Regions from separate parts of the Homo sapiens genome. Here all the other regions are linked to region 3. The links are contacts of gene promoters, found by promoter capture Hi-C in blood cells and fetal thymus (Javierre and others, 2016). All regions are on one chromosome and are shown on one strand. Each heading gives the region's core, a stretch centred on a gene start or on the middle of the fragment in contact. The rest is flanking DNA. Distances are from core to core; before and after follow the strand shown. Region 1 holds the start of P2RY2 (purinergic receptor P2Y2). Region 2 holds the start of RELT (RELT TNF receptor). Region 3 overlaps ARAP1 (ArfGAP with RhoGAP domain, ankyrin repeat and PH domain 1).

Region 1 (3,276 bases), core at 679-3,178, 530 kb before region 3:
CTGTGCCACCCACTTTGATAACCAGATTCTGGTTTGCCCTTCTTTGTAGTGACATGGAGCTCCCCTGCAGCCGGGCCTTTACTGGAGAAGCTGGTGCCAGAGACAGGGGATGGGCGCCACTGCTGCTCTCTCAGTTCAGCTCAGCCCTGTGCAGGGTGCTGGCAACACAGAAATAATAAGACCCAGTTTCTGCCCTCCAGGAGCCCCTAGACCTGGGAAGAGGAAAGGAGGAGACAGACATAGATCATGACGGTTCAGGTGGGACCAGGGCTGTCAGCCCCAGGCCTGTAGGGGCCTAGAAGAGGCTCCAACCCAGCTGTAGGGATCAAGGAAGGCTTTCCAGAGGAGAGGACATCTGAGCTGGGTCCCAAGTCTGGGTAGTTCTCCAGTTGAGGAAGGTGAGAGTAGGAGGGCTTATCAGAGAGGGAGTGTAGAATATGCAACAGGCCAGGGGCAAGAAATGAGAGACTCCAGGCAGCTGCTGCAAGGTAAAGAGTCAGGCGGGAGAGGTGGCTGGAAAGGCTGGCAGGCCCCAGTTATCAAATACCTTAAGTCCCAGGCTACAGGGTTCAGGCTTGGTCCTGTGGAAGGCTTGTGCCCTAGGGAGGGGCACAGTTGGGATTCTGGTTCTGGGAGGCTCCTTCCAGGGACTGACTTCCCATCCCCAAGCTGTGAGCCTGCCCATGGGGGGACACTGGTGCTGAACATGACACACTCATCAGCTCCTCAACAGCCCTCAAATTCCTTATCATTAGTCCCTTCTTACAGACGAGGCCACTGAGGCTCAGAGAAAGGACGGCTTGCCCAGGCCACACAGTGGCCAAGACAGGATTGGAACATAGATCTCTGAGTCTCCAGAGCTCTCTTGTGGACCTGTCTGCTCAGAGAATCTTCTTCCTTCCACTTCCACCCACAGGTAATAAACTTGCCTGGGTCTCCACCCAGATCCTCAAAACTCATAATTATTTCAGCTTAGATCCAAAACAAACCAGGCAGATCAGGCTGTGGTCCTGGGAAGCTGGGGATGCCATGCTGAGAGGAACAGCAGCCATGGACCCCACAAATCCCGAGCTGGCAATTCTGGTCTCCAGCAGTCCCCAACCCTTGGGCTGCGCTCCTGGAGGACCCCAAGAGGGCCACTGGCAGCCTTCGGGTTGGGGGGTGGGGTATCGCCTTTCTCCTGACTGACCCTTTCTACCGCACCATTTGCCAGATTAAAAGCCCGGGGACAGAGGCTTAACTGTCCTTTCTGGCCACTCCCTCCTCCCCCGCCCACTCCCTGCAACTGCCCCCTCAACATTACCAATGGTAGGTGGCCACCCAGAGTGACCCTGGGGTTAGGACAGTGGTAGGGGGTCTCCAGGGGTTCGCGTCTCTGGGCACCGGCCACCGCCTCACGCCACGGGGACGCTCACATCGGAGCACACACAGACAAGTTCCGCAGGCTTGGCCAGTCGCCCCGAGGGGCGCACACACTCACCCGCTAACACGCAGACCTCCCCAGTACGCTGACGCGCACAGCCTCACTACTGGGGCGCCCGTCCACACTCACCGAGACCGACGCTCCCGTGGAGACAAAGTTCAACCACGGACCCACAGGCGCGTTCAAGCCGTCCAGTTATGCGCTACACGCCGGCTCGCAACTGTGCCCCGGGGCGACAGCCGCTCCACAGCGCCCTCCCCTGCCCCGCGCCCAGTCCGCACCTGCGCCAGTCTGGCCCGCCGCTTCCCCGGGCCTCTCCCAGCGCCTTGTTCCCTCCAGACGCCCCACCCCACCTCTCGCCACTGCGCTGCGCTTCTCCTCTCAGGGTGCCGTCGCCGCCGCTCCCGGGTGCCAGTGCCCGGGTCCCGCCGCAGCCGCAGAGACCCACGTGCCTGGGAGCCCGGCTACCCACCTCCCTGCGCTGTTCCCCAACCCCGAAGCCGGGCCAGGCAGGGGGCGGGGCGGACTTTTGACTGACCCTGGCACCGCCCTCAACCCGCCCGGGTAGACACCGCGCCACCCGCTCCGGGACGCCGCCCAGCGACAAGGCCGCGGGGTCAGCGTGTCTGTACCGGTGCTGCAACGGGAGGGTCGGGCGGCGACGCTCTCACTGCCGGGCCAGAAGGAGGCCTCCCGGCTCCCTCACGCTAGAAGGGAGCTGGTTACCAGAGGTTTTCAGAGACGCCAAAGTTTTGCCAGGTCAGCCCGGTGCCTGCGTGGCCCACTGCGGGACCTTTGCGCCCAGCCACCGCGCCACCCTACCCCTGTCCCGCCCCTGCCCCAGCCCGGCTGGCCAGGAAGGGACCTACTGGGAGATACCTGCTCGGAACCCCAGGCTAAGGACGTACCTCCCTTGCTTGAAAGTGGGGGAAGGGGGTGCCTCTCTCCATTACCGTGGTTAGGAAAGCAGGGTACTCAGGATCCCGCCTCTCCCGTGCTCCCCACTTTCCCTGCCTTAATCTTATCAGCAGCTCCCTGAACTCCCCACTCTGGCCCCTTATCTTGAGCTGCTTTACCTCTCTTCTCTGTCGTCAACCCCACTCTAATGGCCTTCCCTGGTCGGGCTACCGGCTGCATGTCTGACCCGTTCGGAGACTGTGAGCTCCCGAGGGCAGGAACCAGGTCTGCCTTCTTCCTGCTGCTGTCCTAGAGGTCCTGGGAGGTGCTCAATCCTTGAAGGTGTGAATGGATGAATGAATGAGCACCCCGCCTCTCTCTCATTTCTGGTCTAGGAATCAGGAGTGTAGGTTCCTGTCTGGCTTCAGCACTGACTCTGGGAGACCTTGACCCAGTTCCATTCCCTGGCAGGGTCTTCTTTCCTGTGAAATGGAGCCAATCGCTCCGCTGGCTGGACAAGTGCAGAGGAGGCCTCTTCCTGTAGCCAAGGAACTTGCCCCGGGCCTTCGGGGCCTTGGGCCCTCTTGGGCTCCATATCAGCTGACTGGGCCTGGCTGCCAGGAAGGGTGCTGGCTGCAGCCCCACCAGGAGCAGTAGCAGAGTGGACACACAGCCCATAGTGGCTGAGCCGCCTCTGCAGTCCTGCTGGGGCCTTTGCTTGGGAGACACAAAGGCCCCTTGTCTAGCCTCCTGCGCCTATTGTCTAAGCTGGGCCACGCACCTTCCAGGGACCTAAGTATCCTCATAGCCCGAGTTATAGGGCCTAGGCCTTCAGGTTCCAGTGTGGGGAAGACCCTTTGGGCACTGGAACTCCAGCCAACCCTCTCTTTCTCTCCCCTCTTCCAAAACTTCAAACCTTATACTGTCACTGCCATTTAGCCCAGGAGAAACAAGTT
Region 2 (3,220 bases), core at 348-2,847, 680 kb before region 3:
GATCCATTTCGTGACAGAGGACCAGGAAGCCTTTGGGTGGGAGGCTAACGTTTCCTTGACCAGTTTTGGAGAAGGCTGTGCTTCCAACCCTATCAGTAGCCCCTGAGTGCAGCCCCTGGGCCGCTGTGTCCCCAGGAGAAGCCTGCCCCCACCCCCCACTGCAGTCTTTCTGCCTGAAGGGAAGGGAGAACACAGGCAGTTGACCCAAAACAATAGAGGATCCCAAAGTGATGATTCACAGTCCATTCAAAGCCCAGCACCTCAGTGTGCAGATGGGGAGACTGAGGCCTGCGCGGGGGAGGGGGGCGGGGGGGTCTGAGAACAAGATTGTGTCCGGGTCCGCTGAGAATACAGATTACACAGGGGCAGAACTTTGCCAGGTGTAGGGACTTCGATGCGTGAGTGTGTGGATGCAGGTGGGCGGGGGGAAGCTGAGACTACCACAGGGCCCCTACCCTGCTGCCATCTGGGCCACCCCACCAGATGTTGCCCAGCCTCGGCTTTCTCCCTCAGCCAGGGCCTATCCCTCAGGGTCCATCTCCTCACCAAGCTGAACTCCTGAGGGGTGCCCTCGTGGGGACAGTCCTGGAGACCCTTGTCTCCTGGCTCCCCAACTTCCTCATCGCCCCACATCTGCCGGAAGGTGTCCTAGGTCCGGTCCCTCCTCCTCCTGCCTCTTACTCATCATCACCCTAGGCGCAGACACACACACACACACACACACACTGACACCACTTGACCCCACACGCACACCATGGCGCCAGCGAGCTCGGCTCGTTCTCAGTCACTTGGGCTCCTCTCCCTCTATTTCACACTCACAGTAACGGGTGGCCCTGGCCCTGCGCCGGTCACGCCCCAAGCCACGCACTTCGTGACCCCAGTGACCCCGGGTCTTTCCCTCACACAACACACGCACACACGCTGCCTGTCTCCCACACACAGAGCCCCTCTGTGTCGCCCGCTCGGCCCGGCGTCACCGCCCAGTGTCCCAGCCACACGTTCGCCCGGCCAGGCCGCCTCACGCGCCGTGTCACCCACAGTCACGGGCTGACACCATCCAGACCCCCCCTTGGCCGCCCCGCGCCGCAGCCGCGCCGAGGCGCCGCCGTCCAGCCCGCACCACAACCTGGTCTCGGTCCAAGTTTCCCGGGCCGGGGACCGCTCCGGGCCCCGCCGGCCCCTCACACCGCAAGTTCCGCTGCTTCCCCGCGCGCCCCCCGACAGCCACCACGCAGGGCCGGCCCGGAGTCGCGGCCGGAGGACCTGCAGGTCACGGGGCTCGGAGACTGGCGGTGGCCGGTGCGCGGAAGGCGCCGGGACAGGACGCGAGGCGGGAGGAGTGGGGTGGGGGGGCGCGCGGCCGGGCTGCCGCATCCGCCGAGCCCGCGAACTTCCTCAGAGACACGGGGAGGCAGGGGGCGCCACTAGGGTCCGTATCCCGCTGGCCCGGCCGCGGAGAGCAGACTCTGGATGGGCGCTCCGCGCGCCCTCCTTACCTGGCTGCGCCGCGGCAGCTCCAGCTCGGCTCCCCGTTCGACTCGGCGCCGCGGCCCGGCTCGGCGAGCGCCCGGACAGCCGCGCAGCCTGCGCGCCTTTTGAATGAATCGCCGGCTGGGCCGGGAAGGTGCGCAGACCCGCCCCCGCGCGTCACGGCCGCTCCGCCCCCGACGTCAGAGCGCGGTCTGCGCCCCGCGCCCGACTCACCCCGAGCCGCGGAGGGGCTCGCCGCTCTGCCGCTGGGCGGTGCTGCTCTACGTCGCCCTCTCTCGCGCCCCTGGGAACTGCAGGGGGCTGCGCGGGACTGGGCGGCGGTGCCCAGAGGGCCTCTTGTATCCGCCTCTTCAAGGCTCTGAACCAAGCAAGGAGTTGTGCGAAGCAAGATAAAGAGACTGGAGACTGAGATACTCCTCTGGGTCCTCTCAGCATTGCCAGTGTAACTAGAGCCACCTCTGCCCCTTTCTGGGCTTCATCTTCCTCCTGCCAGTTGGTGGCCAGGAAGAATAACCTCACTTTGCTTTGTTGACGAGGCCCAGGCCCAACCCTGGAAACCCTCACCTAGTTGGCGAAAAGGCCTGGTGAAGGTGAGTCTATAAAGGAAGCCCACACGGTGGGCTTCGGCACATCCTTCAAGGCCTAGTGAAATCCTCCAGGAGGCGTCTCCTGCCTCCACTCCCCTACTCCCCGCACCACTTCTCTGTGCCAGGGTAGTTAGTTTCCCTCCAGCAGGACAGGTGACTCAGTGCCCCCCTCCCTACTACAGCCATCCCACCCTGCCAGTTTCCAATGCCAGTCATCACAAACTCCAGGCAGTATTCACACTGTATTCCGACTCCGAATCGTGTCCCCTGGAGTTGTGCTACAGGGTGTGCCAGGACTGGAGGGAGCAGCTCAGTGGCCCGTTCCCCCTCTCAGTACTATTCAGGGGATCTCAGGCGGTCCTCCTGGGACAGTAGGGCTGATGGGAGACTGAGACACCAGGGAGGACCTAGTGCTGGGCCAGAGGCCTGGCTGGGGTCAGGATAATCACAGCCCATGACAGAGATGGAGAAAGGAAGGTAAATAAGTCAGCTGGGGATAGATGGCTGGGGGTGGGGTTCTAAACAGTCATAGAATCTGAACCCAGGGGCTAGGAGACGGAAAAGGTCAGGTCCCCAGGGTCCAGGAGATTCCAGGAGGCGAACTGGACACCGCATGGGGAGGGGAGCAGGGGATGAGTTTTCATTTCCCTGGGTCATGCTCAGGTTGTGGGGGAAGGGCATAAGGAGCTACAGGTCATTGATGTCAGGATCATGACATCAGCACCCTCATATGTCAATGGAGACCTCCAGGGCTGGGGCAGGGGTTCTTCCAGGGTCCCACATCCCAGCCTACGGAAGGCCAGAGCATCCAGAATGCCTCCACTCCTGGAAATGTTTTCTTTGTAAGGGGACCATCTACACCCCAGCTCTAGGTTCTAGAGTTCAAATGGTGGCAATTTCAGGTGTCGTCACTCAATAAACCAAATGGGGAAGGCCAGGTGTAGTGGTCACACCTGTAATCCTAGCACCTTGGGAGGCTGAGTTGGGAGGATCACTTAGCCCAGGAGTTCGAGACCAGCCTGGGCAACATGATGAAGCCCAGTCTCTACAAAAATATGTGGGAGAATCACTTGAGCCCAGGAAGTTGAGACTGCAGTGAGCCGCGATCGTGCCACTGCACTCCAGCCTAGGTGAGAGAGTGA
Region 3 (3,357 bases), core at 1-2,500:
GAAGGTGCTGCCCATCCTGCACGGGCTGGGCACGGACAGCCACCTGGTGGTGAAGAAGCACCAGGCCATGGAGGCCATGCTGCTGTACCTGGGTAGGTGGTGCCTGCAGGGTGGCCAGGCTCCGGGTGGTCCTCTCTTCCAGAGCCAGGGTGGGACCTGGTGGTGCCAGGTAGGAACAGCTCAGACAGAGGGCGCCAAGTGGGTGGGCCTCTATGGAGAGGCTGGGGCAGGATGGGGCAGCTTCCTTCATCCTGGGACCCAGCCCCGGGTAGGGGTTGGTGCAGCCTGTGCCCACTCCAGTCCCACCCCCCAGCCAGCCGTGTCGGTGACACCAAGCATGGCATGATGAAGTTCCGTGAGGACCGCAGCCTCCTGGGCCTGGGCCTGCCCTCAGGTGGCTTCCACGATCGCTACTTCATCCTCAACAGCAGCTGCTTGCGGCTCTACAAGGAGGTCCGGGTAAGTGGCCCCGCTGGGTTCTGCCCCAGGGTGGGCACCTGTACACCTGAATGTGCTCAGAGATTCCCCTTGGTCTGCAAGTGGAAATATTCCCGTTACAGGCTCTCAGGATGGCACAGCAGTGGGGGAGAACTGTAGACTCTCAAGACCCCTCCTGCTGTGGCCCTGGACGGCCACTCTAGTGTGCCCTGTAGCCCCACTAAGCCCTGGCACCCGGATGCCATCACACCACTCCATGCCCATGCTCTGTCTCACTGTGCCTGTGCCTTATCACTGCATCCACAGGAACCTGTTACTTGATGACAGCCCCAAGTTGTGCATGCATGCCTTGTCATATCGTATGTCATATGCCTCCCGGGCCACCCTTCTCCCTCATTCTGTCCACATGCAGGTGTTCTCCCAACCCAGACTCCATTTGACACCCTCCACCTTCTGCACATACATGCCATACACACACCCCAACCCCACACATCACTGCACATGCTGTCCTGGCTCTAGACCTGGGACTTCTTCCATAACCCTGATCCTCTATCAAACAGAGCCAGAGGCCGTGGAGCGGGGCCCCTGAGACCGTGAGTAGCTGTGGGCTGACTGCCAGCTGCCTTACACCACCTGGGGGCCAAATGAGCTGGGTGGGAGCATGGGGAGACAGCCAGGGCTCCTGGCCATCTCCAGGCATGGATCCCTGCCCCCTTGCCCGTTGGCACTGGCCCCTATCCTGGGGCCTAAGCTCCTCCCCTTTATCCCTAATCCTGTCCCAGGGTCCTTTCCCCAATATAGGGTTCCTTATCAGTGCAATGCTCTAGAATTTTCCAAAGGACTTAGTGTAGAAGTTAAAGAGCCAGTAATGATGGCACCTAGGTTTGAATTAGAGCCCTGATCTTCATCTCCTGTCATCCCTGGAGCCACCTTATTTCCAACCCTGGACAGTGTTCCAGGACTGTCAGAATGTTCTTGCTACTGCCCTGATCCTAACATGCCGGGGTGGGACGAGAGAGGCTTGTGGGATACCCCCACCTGGGGTAGCAGTCTCTCTGAGGCTTCCTGGCTGGCTATTTCCACTCTGCACACTCCTAGGAGAGAGAGCTCATCCCTCCGCCCTTGGGGCTGCCCTGTTCCTAGGGGGATACTTCTGTCTGGAAAAGGTCCTTGCTCAGGTTCTGCTGAGAATCTGCATCTCATGATGCCCCCATGGGTCCCAGCTATGCCTTGGGGGCTACAGAGCATAGATGCCCTGCAGCAGGGGTCCCCAACTGTTGGGAACAGGGCCGTGCAACAGGAGGTGAACATCGGGCGAGTGAGCATTACTGCCTGAGCTCTGCCTCCTGTTAGGTCAGCAGCGGCGTTAGATTCTCGTAAGAGTGCGAACCCTACTGTGAACTGTGCAAGCGAGGGATCTAGGTTGTGCGCTTCTTATGAGAATCTGATGTCTGAACATCTGAGGTTTTACAGTTTTATCCCGAAACCATCCCCCCACCCATGGAAAAATTGTTGTCCACAGAACTGGTCCCTGGTACCAAAAAGACTGGGGACTGCTGCCCTGCAGGATGGGCAACAGAGACATGGTTCCAAGCCTGGTGGTCTAGCCTGAGCTCCCACAGCTACCCACCACCCCATCCCCAGTGTCTTCAGCCTCTTCCTGCCCCTTGCATTTCCTGAGGTCATCTGAACAGGCTTGGCTGCCATGGCAGGAGCAGAGCAGATAGAGCAGGACCTCATCTCCTTCTCTTTGCATTTTGTGCCTCCTCTAATGCATCCTGGGCTCCTGCTAACCCTGTGGGAAACACCGTCTCTTCTCTCCTTTGCCCTCTTCTGTGATCACATCCTCACTTCTGAGCCTATCTGCCCATCCAGTCAATCCCCCTTGGTTCTGGGATGCTATTTCCCTGGCCGCCTCCCTCTAGGAGTGTTTAGAACCCTCACTGTGGGCAGAAGGGAGGGAAGATGGCTGAGGTACCTGGAAAGGGACGTGTGGATCCCTGGGCATGGAAGGAAGGAGGCAGGAGAGCTAGAAAAAGGGATGAGATCTAATGTTCCCTAAGGAACCTGGCTTAGTGCTGGCCCTTCACATACTGAGACATGGAATCCTTACTACTGTTCTCTGAGGAAGAGGGCTGTCCCCACTTCCAGGTGAGAAAACAGGCTTTGTGTGACTTGCCCAAGGCCATCTATAAGTGTAGACTGGGACTTGCACCCAGGTTTCTTAGTGTGGAAACGCAAGCTTGTATTCCTGGAAGTCTCAGACTTGAGGACTCAGCAGGGAGGGGTGCTCAGCACAGGGTAGGTGGTGCTCTTCACACCCCAGAGACAGCCAACACCTCTGGCCTGGCAGAGGCCCTGAGCAGATGTGAGCTGGTTACCACGGGGTTATCAACTCTGGCATTTGTTGGTTTATGCGGCAGTAGGACAGAATATTTGAAATTGGGACAATCTCAGGTGATTCAGTAGGATATATGTCCACTTGTGCCTTATCCTGGGGGTCTCCTCTTGTTAAAGACCCTGAGGCACCTGGAAAAGGCACATGCTAGAAAGATCTTGGTTCCAGCAGAGATCCTTAAGCATCAAGAGTAAACGTCATTGTCTGCCCATGGCCCCATGCCTTGGAGATGCTGGAAACATGAGCCGTCTGATTAGAAATGTCCTTGGGCCAGGTGCAGTGGCTCATGCCTGTAATCCCAGCACTTTGAGAGGTCAAGGTGGGAGGATGGCTTGAGTCCAGGAGTTTGAGACCAGCCTGGGCAACATGGTGAAACCCTGTCTCTATAAAAATTAGCCGGATGTGATGGTGCATGCTTGTAGTCCCAGCTACTCAGGAGGCTGAAGTGGGAGGATGGCTTGATCCCATGAGTTGGGGTTGCAGTGAGCTGAGATTGCACCACTACACTCCAGCTTGGGGGA

What was found. Contacts are between HindIII fragments. The CHiCAGO score rates a contact against its expected background, and 5 or more counts as called.
Region 1: a contact is called between the fragment with the promoter of P2RY2 here and a fragment that was not itself captured in region 3, in 1 of 17 cell types (neutrophils). The highest score is 6.3, in neutrophils.
Region 2: a contact is called between the fragment with the promoter of RELT here and a fragment that was not itself captured in region 3, in 1 of 17 cell types (neutrophils). The highest score is 5.0, in neutrophils.

The regions. Positions count from the first base shown.
Region 1 is chr11:73,216,933-73,220,208 of GRCh38, reverse strand. P2RY2 (purinergic receptor P2Y2) reads right to left here and starts at 1,928. Exons shown (of 3, transcript NM_002564.4): 1 at 1,777-1,928. It overlaps LOC124902709 (a long non-coding RNA gene), which reads left to right and starts at 2,016. Exons shown (of 3, transcript XR_007062773.1): 1 at 2,016-2,182. RefSeq lists enhancers at 657-1,375, 1,376-2,094 and a silencer at 1,808-2,017. The HindIII fragment of the contact is 6,402 bases long and covers 1-3,276 here.
Region 2 is chr11:73,374,776-73,377,995 of GRCh38, reverse strand. It overlaps RELT (RELT TNF receptor), which reads right to left and starts at 1,597. Exons shown (of 11, transcript NM_152222.2): 1 at 1,497-1,597. RefSeq lists an enhancer at 618-912 and silencers at 1,078-1,157, 1,248-1,537, 1,568-1,877. The HindIII fragment of the contact is 14,706 bases long and covers 1-3,220 here.
Region 3 is chr11:72,690,427-72,693,783 of GRCh38, reverse strand. ARAP1 (ArfGAP with RhoGAP domain, ankyrin repeat and PH domain 1) reads left to right here. Exons shown (of 35, transcript NM_001040118.3): 28 at 1-92; 29 at 314-459; 30 at 999-1,031. Among named protein-coding and RNA genes, the nearest start is that of ARAP1-AS2, 8.4 kb to the left of the region's middle. The HindIII fragment of the contact is 2,865 bases long and covers 1-2,682 here.